Linked DNA regions of Homo sapiens: all the other regions are linked to region 3. The links are contacts of gene promoters, found by promoter capture Hi-C in human tissues and cell types (Jung and others, 2019). All regions are on one chromosome and are shown on one strand. The core of a region is centred on a gene start or on the middle of the fragment in contact, and the rest is flanking DNA. Distances in the headings are between cores, read along the strand shown.

What was found. The method cuts DNA at HindIII sites, captures the fragments that hold promoters and counts their contacts. A contact is called where the count stands out against the background at its distance.
Region 1: a contact is called between a fragment that was not itself captured here and the fragment with the promoter of CHST14 in region 3, in 2 of the 25 tissues and cell types used here (lymphoblastoid cells and mesenchymal stem cells).
Region 2: a contact is called between a fragment that was not itself captured here and the fragment with the promoter of CHST14 in region 3, in 2 of the 25 tissues and cell types used here (aorta and hippocampus).

The regions. Positions count from the first base shown.
Region 1 is chr15:40,648,835-40,653,162 of GRCh38, forward strand. KNL1 (kinetochore scaffold 1) reads left to right here. Exons shown (of 26, transcript NM_144508.5): 18 at 1,467-1,544; 19 at 1,710-1,749; 20 at 2,637-2,738; 21 at 3,171-3,271. Among named protein-coding and RNA genes, the nearest start is that of RAD51-AS1, 44 kb to the right of the region's middle. The HindIII fragment of the contact is 4,275 bases long and covers 1-4,114 here.
Region 2 is chr15:40,703,284-40,707,798 of GRCh38, forward strand. RAD51 (RAD51 recombinase) reads left to right here. Exons shown (of 10, transcript NM_002875.5): 4 at 2,894-3,011. Among named protein-coding and RNA genes, the nearest start is that of RAD51, 10 kb to the left of the region's middle. The HindIII fragment of the contact is 4,221 bases long and covers 402-4,515 here.
Region 3 is chr15:40,467,756-40,472,394 of GRCh38, forward strand. CHST14 (carbohydrate sulfotransferase 14) reads left to right here and starts at 3,229. Exons shown (of 1, transcript NM_130468.4): 1 at 3,229-4,639. The coding sequence starts at 3,459. The coding sequence ends at 4,589. It overlaps BAHD1 (bromo adjacent homology domain containing 1), which reads left to right. Exons shown (of 7, transcript NM_014952.5): 7 at 1-481. RefSeq lists enhancers at 2,701-2,810, 4,093-4,639 and silencers at 3,101-3,340, 3,391-3,640. The HindIII fragment of the contact is 30,667 bases long and covers 1-4,639 here.

The DNA of each region.
Region 1 (4,328 bases), core at 727-3,226, 180 kb after region 3:
TTTTTTTTTTTTTGAGATGGTATTTCACTGTCGTTACCCAGGCTGGAGTCAATGGCACAATCTCTGCTCACTGCAACCTCCGCCTCCCAGATTCAAGCGATTTTCCTGCCTGAGCTTCCCGAGTAGCTGGGATTACAGGCATGCACCACCAGGCCCTGCTAATTTTTTTTTTTTTGTATTTTTAGTAGAGACGGGGTTTCTCCATGTTGGTCAGGCTGATCTCGAACTCCCGACCTCAGGTGATCCGCCCGCCTCGGCCTCCCAAAGTGCTGGGATTACGGGTGTGAGCCACTGCGCCTGGCCCAAACTTAACTTTCTCTGTGGTTGGCTTAAAGAAAAAAAAAAAGTCCAAACTTCTGAGCTTGACATTTCATATCTTCTACAGTTGTTTTCAGATTTACATGATTTGTTACTACTCCCATACACCTCTTAAATTCTAACCAAACATTGCTATTTTTATGCAGTTCTGCCACTTTTTTGAGACAGAATCTCTCTCTGTCACCCAGGCTGGAGTGCAGTGGCATGATCTCTGCTCACTGCAACCTCTGCCTCCTGGATTCAAGCAATTCTTGTGCCTCAGCCTCCCAAGTAGCTGGGATTACAGGCATGCACCACCACCCCCAGCTAATTTTTGTATTTTTAGTAGAGATGGTGTTTCACCATCTTGGCCAGGCTGGTCTCAACTCCTGGCCTCAAGTGATCTGCCCATCTCAGCCTCCCAAAGTGCTAGGATTACAGGCATCAGCCACTACGCCTGCCTTTTTCTTTTATTTAAAAAAAAAAAAAGAGAGGCAGAGTCTCACTCTGTTGCCCAGGCTGGGGTGCAGTGGCATGATCATAGCTCACTGCAGCTTCAAACTCCTGGGCTCAAGGAATCCTCCTTCCTCAGCCTCCTGAGTAGTTGGGACTATAGGCACATGCCACTAGCCTGATCATTTCTACTTTGGTCTTTGCTACTACATACTACGTTCTCTTTCTGTTTTTCACCAAAGAAAGTAGTCTCTTTTCCTTGAGCTCTCATGGCTCTTTTGTTAGTACTTCTTATATTACCCATCACATCTACTTGTATTATAGTTATTTTGTATAGTTTATCTTCCTGATTAAATTATAAGCTCTGTGGAGGCAGGAATCAGCTCTTCTTTTTCTCCATCTCCTTCAGAGTCCCTAGGACTATATTTCATACAGAGTAAGTGCCTAGTACATGTTTTTTGCACTGAATTGACCATGAGTACATGAATTCCATAGTCTAAAGTTCACCCCTTTGTTGACTACCTTACTTTCTCTTTCACAGAAAAAAAAAAAAAAATAGAAACCATCAGACTAGAACTTCTGAACTTCCTACTACCAAAGAAACAATCTGTCGTTTAATAAATTGTTTTTGATTGAATTATTCTTTTTTTCCTTACTTTGTTTTCTTTTTTTACTATTTTTCACTGAATTATTCTAACAAATACTGTCTACTTTAGAAACTAAGAATTTGGAGGATGAAGAGAAAAACAATCCTGTGGAAGAATGGGATTCTGAAATGAGAGCTGCAGAAAAAGGTAATTGAATTAGTTAAGGAGATAAATGGGTGTGGGGGAAGCCCTTCTGTTCTGAGTTTGTTTATATACTTTGGTGAGATTAAGTCAGAATTTTCAATAAAACAGATTTTTGTGGCAACATTCTAATATGTTTGTTCTGTTTTTTTTTTTTTTCTGTTTCCAAAGAATTGGAACAGCTGAAAACTGAAGAAGAGGAGCTTCAAAGGTCAGCCTTCAATCCAAGTGTTAGAAAATATAATGCTAAATCACAGAAGGCTAGATGACTTCCTGCCTCCAGAGACTGACAGGATTTGGGGACATGAGTCTTGATTGAGGCTGACTCAGGGCTTCTCCACTTTGAATGGAAACCTAGAGTCCATCTTAGTCAACAGTAGTTTTGAAGCACTTATTGTTTACAGGGCATTTATCCACAACAGTGTTTCTCAAGCTTGAATACTACCAGTATCCTTTTTGTTTAATAAATGTAAATATAAACAAGTATAAAATGAAGTATATATTTCTTAGGCCTATGAATCTTATTCAACTGTAAGTGTAAAAGAAAGTAAATAGAAATAATGACAAAGCCACTAAAATTCTAGTTGACAACATTAATTTGACAGGTGATAGTGTTTGGCTGAAATTAAATTGATGCTAGCAAAATGATTAACAAAGATATGTTCTGTTTAGCTCTAACAACTAAACGAAACCAAATACAGGCAAAAAAAAAAAAACTGTGACATGTCTCAGTTTTAAAGTATATCTTATGATCTACATTATGCTTATATTTTTATATTTTTGCTTTTTATCAAAAATAAAAATGTAGTATTTAAAAGTTATCTTAACATGTGAATCCCAAGGATATCTTCATGGATCCTAATTTGAAAAACAATGATTTATGCCTTTCCCAGGTAGACCCACTTCTAGATTAATGCTTATATAAAAAAAAAAAAAAAAACTAAACTAAGAATGCAGAAATGGATGCCATACACCTAACATTATTACCTCAATGGGGAGTCATGTAGCATGTGACTTCTTATCATAAACCTTTTATATTGATAGAGTGAATTCTCTAACAAAAACCTTATCTCTCTGAATACCTGCTTTTATTTGCAGAAATCTCTTAGAACTGGAGGTACAAAAAGAGCAGACCCTTGCTCAAATAGACTTTATGCAAAAACAAAGAAATAGAACTGAAGAGCTACTGGATCAGTTGAGGTAAGGAAATGCAGGCATCATTTGTTTGTGTTTTATTCTGTACCTTGTGGTTGTTTAAACCGATTGGAGCAATTGATGTATTTTTAATGTGTTGCTGTTTTTAACCTATACAGTGCTGTTTCAAAAAGAGTCAGTGTACTCAACAGTAAGCTGGAAATAGAGTAGAAGAACTATGGAATTATAATTTTTCCATATTTTATACTTTTCATTGCGTAGACTTGGTGTTTCTCTGATATACAACTCAAGATTGGGTTCTTAGTTATTTCAAAAGCTTAAGTTTGTACATCCACAATATATGAATTGAAATATTTTCTCCCAGTCCAGTGGAAAAACATTAGCAGCTGCTGTTGGTACTGTTTGGGTGGTATCAGAAGTTCTCTTTTATGTTAATTTTAAAAACGCTTTTTAAAAATCTTGTTTATCTCTCTACAGCTTGTCTGAGTGGGATGTCGTTGAGTGGAGTGATGATCAAGCTGTATTCACCTTTGTTTATGACACGATACAACTCACCATCACCTTTGAAGAGTCAGTTGGTAAGGAGCCAAAGTGAGATAATTCTTTTACAGAAAAATGAATGGCTACACTCACTAAAGATTCAAATCTTTATTTTACTATACTGATAACTATTGGCATGATGAGAGCACTGCTGAAAGTCTTAGAACAGTCACTTTATTGATAGCAGAATTTTATTTTATTTTGTAAAGAATAAAATAAAAATGGAATTAGTGAACGTTGCCCTTTGTTGAATTACATTAAATAAAAATTTTGCTCTGCAAATAATGGATAAACATGCTACTCATGTCTATTTACTATGAGTTTCTTTCTTTTCATCTCCATCTTTCGTGATAGAGAATAGAGAATTTACCCTAATGGCTGGAGATTCTTTTTTTTTTTTTTTTTCTTTTTTTACTTAAGAGTGAGGCCCTGCAGCTCACGCCTGTACTCCCAACACTTTGGGAGGCTGAGGTGGGCGGATCATCTGAGGTCAGGAGTTCGAAACCGGCCTGGCCCACATGGTGAGACCCCATCTCTACTAAAACTACAAAAAATGAGCTGGGCATGCACCTGTAATCCTAGTTACTCGGGAGGCTGAGACAGGAGAATCATTCGAACCCAGGAGGTGGAGGTTGCAGTGAGCCAAGATCGTGCCACTGCACTCCAGCCTGGGCAACAGAGCAAAACTGTCTCAAAAAAAAAAAAAAAAAAGAATGAGGCCCTAACAAGTTAATTGGAAGTTCTGTGTGTATAGGTGGGTTTATCATCTAAAAGGATAAAATCACTATATAGGGTGGAAATCACTATATGGTAACTGGACAGAGGCCCAGCTGTTTTGTTGGAGTTTACTAGTTGTCAGTGTCTTTTAGGTATTTTCTCTTTAACCAGTCAGCGTCAACATGGCCAACCATGGGCAAACATGGCCGTATTGGAACGTAGGATCTTCACAATCTCTGGGCCTCTAAACCTGATTCTCCTTGAAAGTTTCTTTTCTCAATGAATAGCGTTACCTTCTGTCCAGGTCCAAAATTAAAACTTAGGAATCACTCTATACCTCTTTCTCCCTCGCTGTACATATTCAAATCATCAGTAAGA
Region 2 (4,515 bases), core at 1,262-3,761, 230 kb after region 3:
CAGGCTGGTCTCAAAATCCTGGCCTCAGGTAATCCGCCCATCTCAGTATCCCAAAGTGCTGGGATTACAGGCGTGAGCCACTGCACCTGGCCGTGCAATGAATTTTTAAATGAAATATTAAGTATATAGAAAAGTTTAGAGAATAAACTTTCATTGATTTTTCAGCTATTTGTTGATTTTTTTTCTTCATGGGAAATTTAAACATTATGAAAGTTTAATCTTTTTACTTTCTATGGGTCTATTTAGATTTTCTTCTTGAGTGAGTTTTGGTAGTTTATCTTTCTAAGAATTTGCTTATTTCATCTAAGTTACCTAACTTGTTGACATAGAGATGCTCACAGGGTTTCCTTATACTACTTTTTATTTACATAAAGTCAGTAGTAATGTCCCCTCTTTCATTCTTGATTTTAGTAATTTGAGTCTTTTCTCTTTTTTTCTCGGGCAATGCAGCTAAAAGTTTGTCAATTTTGTTGATATTTTCAAAGAACCAGCTTTTGGTTTCATTGATTTTTCTCTATTATTCTGCCCTCTACTTAATAGTTTCTACCCTAACCTGTATTATTTCCATCTTTCTGCTTGCTTTGTTTTGTTTGCTTTTCTTTGGAAGGTTAGGTTATGATTTATCTTTTTTATTTTTAGAGGCAGAGTCTTGTTCTGTCACTTACGTTGGAGTGCAGTGGTGTGATCATAGCTCACTGCAGCCTCCAACTCCTGGCTCAAACAAACCTTCTGCCTCAGCCTCCCAGGTAACTAGGACCACAGGCACGCCCCACCATGCCCTGCTATTTATTTTATTTTATTTTATTTTTGAGACGGAGTCTCCCTCTGTGCCCAGGCTGGAGTGCAGTGGCGTGATCTCTGCTCACTGCAACCTCTGCCTCTTGGGTTCAAGCGATTCTCCTGCCTCAGCCTCCTGAGTGGCTGGGATTACAGGCACGTGCCGCCATGCCCAGCTAATTTTTAGTAGAGACAGGGTTTCACCGTGTTAGCCAGGATGGTCTTGATCTCCTGACCTCATGATCTGCCTGCCTCAGCCTCCCAAAGTGCTGGGATTACAGTCGTGAGCCACCGCGCCAGGCCTTTTTTTTTTTTTTTTCTGATGCAGTCTCACTCTCTTGCCCAGGCTGGAGTGCGGTGGTGTGATCTCGGCTCACTGCAACCTCCGCCGCCCGGGTTCAAGCAGTTCTCCTGTTTCAGCCTCCTGAGTAGTTGGGACTACAGGCGCACGCCACCACGCCCAGCTATTTTTTGTATTTTTAGTAGAAATGGGGTTTCACCATATTGGGCAGGCTGGTCTTGAACTCCTGACTTCGTGATCTGCCCACCTCACCCTACCAAAGTGCTGGGATTCAGGCATGAGCCACCATGCCCAGCCATGCCCTACTAATTTTTTTTTTTTTTTTTGAGATGGAATCTCGCTGTGTCTCTCAGGCTGGAGTGCAGTGGTGCAAATTCAGCTCACTGCAACCTCCGCCTCCCAGATTCAAGTGATTCTTCCACCTCAGCCTCCCGAGTAGCTGGGACTACAGGCGCGTGCCACCACGCCCGGCTAATTTTTGTATTTTTAGTAGAGAGGAAGTTTCACCATGTTGGTCAGGCTGGTCTTGAACTCCTGACCTTGTGATCTGCCCACCTCAGCCTCCCAAAGTTCTGAGATTACAGAGGTGAGCCACCACACCCAGCCACCCTGCTAATTTTAAAACATTTTTAGAGCCAGGGTGCTGCTTTGTTACTCAGGCTGGTCTCAAACTCCTGGCTTCCAGCAGTCCTCCCACCTCAGCCTCCCAAAGTGCTGGGATTACAGGTGTGATTCACCACACCCAGCCTTCTTTTCTAATATAGCTGTTTATAGCTATGAATTTCTCTCTAAGCACTGCTTTTCTTGGAGCCCATACGTTTTGGTATATCTTCGTTTTCATTCATTGCAAAAACATTTTCTGATTTCCCTTGTCATTTCTTCTTTGACTTGTTGCTTATTTAGGAGTGTGTTGCTTTATTTTTGCATATTTGTGAATGCACTTACTTTTCAATTTTAGAATCAACCCATAGTGCTATTACAGAACACTTATCTGTAATTACAAAATAGAATGTGAATGTTCTCAGCCAGACAATATGAAAGAAAAGGTACAGCTGATAGAGGTGGGGAAGTAGCCATGGAGAGAGAAAAGATTGAAGGGCAAATGTCCTCATTTTTACAAAGTAGGAAGTTAAGGGATACAGTCTGCGGTTGATGGAGCAGGAAATGAAGGTGTACTGTATTGTCATTTTTGTCATAAATTGGGCAAAACACATATGTACGGATCTCTAATAGTTTTTTGTTTTGTTTTGTTTTGTTTTTTGAGACAGAGTCTCGCTCTGTCCCCCAGGCTGGAGTACAGTGGCGCGATCTCGGCTCACTGCAAGCTCCGCCTCCCGGGTTCACGCCTTTCTCCTGCCTCAGCCTACCAAGTAGCTGGGACTTCAGGCACCCGCCACCACGCCCGACTAATTTTTTGTATTTTTTTAGTAGAGATGGGGTTTCACCATGTTAGCCAGGATGGTCTCGATCTCCTGACGTTGTGATCCGCCTGCCTTGGCCTTCCAAAGTGCTGGGATTACAGGCGTGAGCCATCGCACCCGGCCGGATCTATAATAGTTTTTAAAACTATATTAATATATTAACTTGAATTGGCAATTTAAAAATTGATCTTCATGGAATCTCTGAATTAGATTATCCTTTTTTATGACTTTCTAAAGAGAAATCATCCTGGTAATTTTATTTGATATTTTCTCTTCCCATTGCACACCTTGTTTTACTAATATTTCTTTTTTCTTTATATATATTTTTTTGCCATCAAGATCACTGTGGTAAGGAATATTATTTTGTTGATTTAATATTTCTTATTTTTCCCAGGCTGAGGCAGCTAAATTAGTTCCAATGGGTTTCACCACTGCAACTGAATTCCACCAAAGGCGGTCAGAGATCATACAGATTACTACTGGCTCCAAAGAGCTTGACAAACTACTTCAAGGTGTAGTAATCCTTTATCCTGTGTTGTGAACTCTAGTTAGGAAAGCTTCCAGGTTATAAAACAAAACTGAAATATTTGTGTAGCATTTCCTTGTTAGATAATGATAAAGAGATAGAGGAAGGCCAGGTGCAGTGGCTTATGCCTGTAATCTCAGCACTTTGGGAGGCTGAGGTGGGCAGATCACCTGAGGCTGGGAGTTCGAGACCAGCCCAGCCAACATGGAGAAACCTATTAAAAATACAAAATTAGTTGGGCATGGTGGCACATGCCTGTAATCCCTGTAGGTGCACATGCCTACTCGGGAGGCAGAGGCAGGAGAATCACTTGAACCCGGAAGACGGAGGTTGCTGTGAGCCAAGATTGTGCCACTGCACTCCAGCCTGGGTGACGAGCAAAACTCTGTCTCAAAAACAAAGAGAGATAAAGGAAGTATCCACATTGAAGAGGTAAGACTGCTGCAAGGTAGGACCTTATTTATAAAATACTAAACTTATCTGCAAATTAAATAATTTAGTCTCCATTTAATATTGTGTTAAGAGAGTAAGCTCCTTTTGCTTAAGGAGGTAACTGTAATTATAACCTACTCTACCACAGGGTTGAAAACCTGATGACTGGTTAAAACATTCCATGTTTGAATACTACTCATTGTGTACACACTAATCTTCAGGACTTCAGGGAAAACTATAAAGCTTTTGACCTTATTATTTATTTTTCGAGACAGGGTCTCACTCTGTCACCCAGGCTGGAGTGCAGTGGCATGGTCTCAGCTCACTGCAACCTCTGCTTCCTGGGCTCAAGTGATCTTCTAGCCTCAGTCTCCCCAAGCTAGGACTATGATCATTTACCACCTGGCTAATTTTTTTTTTTTTTTTTTTTTTTTTTGAGTCGGGGCATCACTCATTATGTTGCCCAGGCTGGTCTCAAAATCCTGAGCTCAAGCCATCCTCCTGCCTCAGCCTCCCAAAGTGCTGGGATTATAGGCTTGAGCCACCTTGCCTGGCCCAATGTCAGTTTTCTTTCCCTTTTTTTTGAGACAGAGTCTCACTCTGTTACCCAGGCTGGAGTGCAGTGGCATAATCTCAGCTCACTGCAACCTCCGCCTCCTGGGTTCAAGTGATTCTCCTGCCTCAGCCTCCCAAGTAGCTGGGACTACAGGCAAGTGCCACCATGCCCAGCTAATTTTTGTATTTTTAGTAGAGATGAGGTTTCACCACGTTGGCTAGGTTGGTCTCGAACTCCTGACCTCAGATGATCTACCCGCCTCAGCCTCCCAAAGTGCTGGGCTTACAGGCGTGAGCCATCATGCCTGGCCCCCAATGTCAGTTTTCTAATATCAGTGCTATACTATCATTATGCAAGAGGTTAACACTGCAGAAGGCTAGGTGCATAGAAATTTCGTATGTTTTTTTTTGTTGTTGTTGGTTTGTTTGTTTGTTTTTTAAAGACAGAGTCTTGCTCTGTTGCCCAGGCTAGAATGCAGTGGCACAATCTCGGCTCATTGCAA
Region 3 (4,639 bases), core at 1,979-4,478:
ATTGAATAAGCTGTTTGGAGGAAGGTGTCTGTCTGGGAGGATGGGGCAGTAAATGAGGTTGGCAGAGTGGCAGTGGGGGCTCTGCAGAGCCAGCCTTGGAGCCTGCTCATTCTGGGCCCTTGCTGCCAAGGAGCCCAGCCTCACCTAGCAGGAAAGGAGATGAAGGCCCTCCTCCCAGGAGGTAGGGTCTTGGCTGCCCCGAACTTAAATGCTTTTGAAATCTCTTAGATGTGGAAATATTTTTTCGAACCTGAAAATGCAGCTGGTAGAATTTCAATGGAAGCATAATCCATGTAAAATATATTTTAGTTGATATTTTGTAAAATGCACTTTTTGTGTGTGTTGATCCTGGTTTCCCAGATCTGTATTTCAGTGTTTACAAGGGAGGAAGGACCTTTCCTCACCTCCCTTTTGACAGAGATTAGAAGTACTTCTTTAAGAAAAAAATAAATTTGAGAAATTGTATTGATTTAGAAAAGGATCGTTTCCTGTGTGTCCTGTCATCTTTTGGTGTGTGGGTGTGGAGAGACCCACTATTCTTATTTCAGAGGTCCCTCTTAACCCCTGTGGCATGGATGCTCACCAAGGCCAATGAGCAAAGAGGGCAGGGAAGCAGAGGGAAAAGAGAGTGAGGGAAGGAGACAGAGGGACTGGGAACTTGGAGTTGACTTCTTGATTTCATGGTGGCCACAGCTGCCTGCTTAGGTCTGTGTGAAATACTTCAGTTGCCAGCCCTCACCTGACCAGTGACCTGGAAATTGGTCCCCAAGTAGGTACATGGCAAAGATACCTTCTTATCACTGGCCTCATGCAGTGGCTCCTGCCTGTAATCCCAGTGCTTTGGGAGGCAGAGGCAGGAGGGTTACTTGAGCCTAGGAGTTTAAGACCAGCCTAGGCAACATAGACCATGTCTCTCGAAAAATTTAAAAATTAGCCCGGCATGTCAGTGCATGCCTATAGTCTCAGTCAGGAGGCTAAGGTAGGAGGATTGCTTGATCCCAAGAGCACGAGGCTGCAGTGAGCCGTGATCATACCACTGCAGCCTGGGTGACAGAGTGAGATCCTGTCTCAGAAAAGAAAAAAAAAGCATCCCTCCTCATCACCTTGGGTAACTGGCCAGCACTGTCCTAGGGCCTCAGTGTCTTGCAGCTGGTGCTTCTTGCTTGCTGAGGAAGGCCACATCATGGGGCCAAGGGTCTGCGGCCAGCTGACCCCTGCTTCAGCCCAGCCCTGGTCCCAGCCTGGAAGCCTCAGTGTTGACCATGTTCCAGGTGGGGCAGCTCTAAGGCCATAGAGGTTCCTGGGAGCCACAGCACCCCCCCGCCCCGCCTCCACTTCTGCATTTTGCTAAGGCATGGTGCATGTGGGCAGGAACATTTTTTCAGAATTTATTGGTGGCACAGACACCACCATGGATTTTTCTAGCTCTGCCTTCAGTGTGGTGTCCACAAGACTCCCTTGAGGCGAGTGGTAGCTTGTCCTTATCTTACAGACAAGAAATTGGTATGGAGATAAGTACCAGGCCCAAGGACTCCCCCTGCCTCACCCTGACTGCTAACACAGAAAACTACCCTGTAACACAGAAGGGAGCACATGTGGCCACATTATCAAAAGATTTTTAAAGGTCTAAGGCCTTTTTTTCCTCTCCTGGTTTAAAGGACATACTTACTGGAAAATATGATTTTAATAGAAAATCCTATCACCAGAAATGTATACCTTTAGGATTATTGGAAGCAAGGAGCAGTGTAGACAAGGCAGAACCTTCACGCAAACTTCTGGTGCAGCAAATGGACAGGTGGTAGCCTGCAGATGCACTGGGGCAATCAGATGTGGAGAGCCTGCCCTGGAGAGCTGGAAGGCTGCAAGGCTTTACCGTTCCTTCCCCTGGCTCATCTGTGTGCTTTTCCTGTTGCTGGGATTGTGGGGTCATCAGTGAGCCCTCTAGTATCACCTCATCCCTCAAGTCCCCTCACCCTTCTGAATTCATCTGATCACTGGTAGCTCCATTCTCCCACTGGTATCTTCTATTTTCCATCACCTGCTCTGTACAGTCCGCCCTCGAGTCAGCTGCTTCCTCCCTTCTAGCCATTCCATGATATGCTCCTTTAATCTCTGAAGGGCCGTGATTAGAAATTTAGGTTTTAGACTCAGAACCACCCATACTGAGTCACATCTTCCCTGAGCCTCTGTTACTTCAGCTGTACAAAGGGAATGTCCACACTAGCTCCCTGCCAGGGTGGCTGTAACAACTAAAGGAGATAATGAATATAAAACACTTAGTGGGCGCTGTCCTCAGTACACTTGGGCTCTAATCATATTCCTCTGCTGCTTCAGAGGCTTGCTGGCTCTCTGCAGGCAGCAAGCACATAGCTGGACCAAGTCTGGCTACTGAGCCAGGTTCCCAGTGGGAAATGGTGGTTGCTGACATCCAAAGCACTTCGGGTCTGCTGTCCGCCCAAGTGACCAGCCTGGTGCCATGGAGCACACATCTAGCTCCAGGCAAGGAGACTACGTGCTGTTTCCCTGCTGTTTTGTGCCCCCAGCTCCTCACCCTTCCAAATGTGTGTTGGCCACACCAGCAGCTGATGGACCAATGTGTCAGACCCTCCCCAGAGTGCCCAGTTATCCCACTGCCTCATGAGGAGAAGGCAGAGGAGGGGAGACTCCATTTCCAGACATTTCAGCATTACCCAGTGGACAAGCACTGTAGTCAGTCCCCAGGTATTGCTAAACACAAGGGTCACCATGGAGACTGGTCAGTGTCTGACAGTTCTGCTTCTCCTTCCTGGAGTGGCCACGACCTGCAGGACGGAGGGAGTTAAGGGTGGCAAGGGGGAGCACACCGAGGGCTCCGCTTCCAGCTGGAAAGACCAGCCTCCGGCACGTCTGGACTCGGAGAGAGCGCTGCCCGCCTCCCTGCCTCCAGACCCGTTGCTGGAGGAAGGGCTAGGACAGGCCTGAGTTTGTGGCGAATCCCCCTTGTCCACTTCCCTGAGGACACACGCTGCAGGAGAGCAGCCTCGAGTCTTTTCTGCCTTCGAGGTCTCAGGAGCTTTTGTCCCCAAGCCCAGAGGACAGGGGTGGCCCTGACTCAGGCGCCCTCTTCCGGGTAGGGGTCCGCGTGCGCCCTCCCAAGCCCGCGCCCCGCAGGGGCGCCCGCCCCTCTCCCCGCCCCCGGCGTGGGCCCGCCCCCGCGCCTGTGTCACTGCGAGGCCGGGGGTGGAGAGCGGCCGGGCGGGACATCCGGCCCGGGTCCCTCGCCGCGCCCGCCGCCCGCCGCCCGCTTCGGCGCCGCAGCCCGGGAGCCGGCCACCCCTACACGCGCCAGGGCTGTCCCCTGCCCTCCCCTCCCCAACTACCCCCGGTCCCAGACCCTCCTCCCGCCCCCAGCCCGAGCCCGCCTTCCAGGCCGCCCTCGGATCGGCCGGGCCCGCGCAGGCCCCCACCCCTTGAGCACCATGTTCCCCCGCCCGCTGACCCCGCTGGCGGCCCCAAATGGCGCCGAGCCCCTGGGCCGGGCGCTGAGGCGGGCCCCTCTGGGCAGGGCCCGGGCGGGGCTGGGTGGGCCGCCCCTGCTGCTGCCGTCCATGCTGATGTTTGCGGTGATCGTGGCCTCCAGCGGGCTGCTGCTCATGATCGAGCGGGGCATCCTGGCCGAGATGAAGCCCCTGCCCCTGCACCCGCCCGGCCGCGAGGGCACAGCCTGGCGCGGGAAAGCCCCCAAGCCTGGGGGCCTGTCCCTCAGGGCTGGGGACGCGGACTTGCAAGTGCGGCAGGACGTCCGGAACAGGACCCTGCGGGCGGTGTGCGGACAGCCAGGCATGCCCCGGGACCCCTGGGACTTGCCGGTGGGGCAGCGGCGCACCCTGCTGCGCCACATCCTCGTAAGTGACCGTTACCGCTTCCTCTACTGCTACGTCCCCAAGGTGGCCTGCTCTAACTGGAAGCGGGTGATGAAGGTGCTGGCAGGCGTCCTGGACAGCGTGGACGTCCGCCTCAAGATGGACCACCGCAGTGACCTGGTGTTCCTGGCCGACCTGCGGCCTGAGGAGATTCGCTACCGCCTGCAGCACTACTTTAAGTTCCTGTTTGTGCGGGAGCCCTTGGAACGCCTCCTCTCTGCCTACCGCAACAAGTTTGGCGAGATCCGAGAGTACCAGCAACGCTATGGGGCTGAGATAGTGAGGCGGTACAGGGCTGGAGCGGGGCCCAGCCCTGCAGGCGACGATGTCACATTCCCCGAGTTCCTGAGATACCTGGTGGATGAGGACCCTGAGCGCATGAATGAGCATTGGATGCCCGTGTACCACCTGTGCCAGCCTTGTGCCGTGCACTATGACTTTGTGGGCTCCTATGAGAGGCTGGAGGCTGATGCAAATCAGGTGCTGGAGTGGGTACGGGCACCACCTCACGTCCGATTTCCAGCTCGCCAGGCCTGGTACCGGCCAGCCAGCCCCGAAAGCCTGCATTACCACTTGTGCAGTGCCCCCCGGGCCCTGCTGCAGGATGTGCTGCCTAAGTATATCCTGGACTTCTCCCTCTTTGCCTACCCACTGCCTAATGTCACCAAGGAGGCGTGTCAGCAGTGACCATGGGTGTGGGGCCAGCAGCTGGTGGGGACTGGTTTCAACGCCAGCTT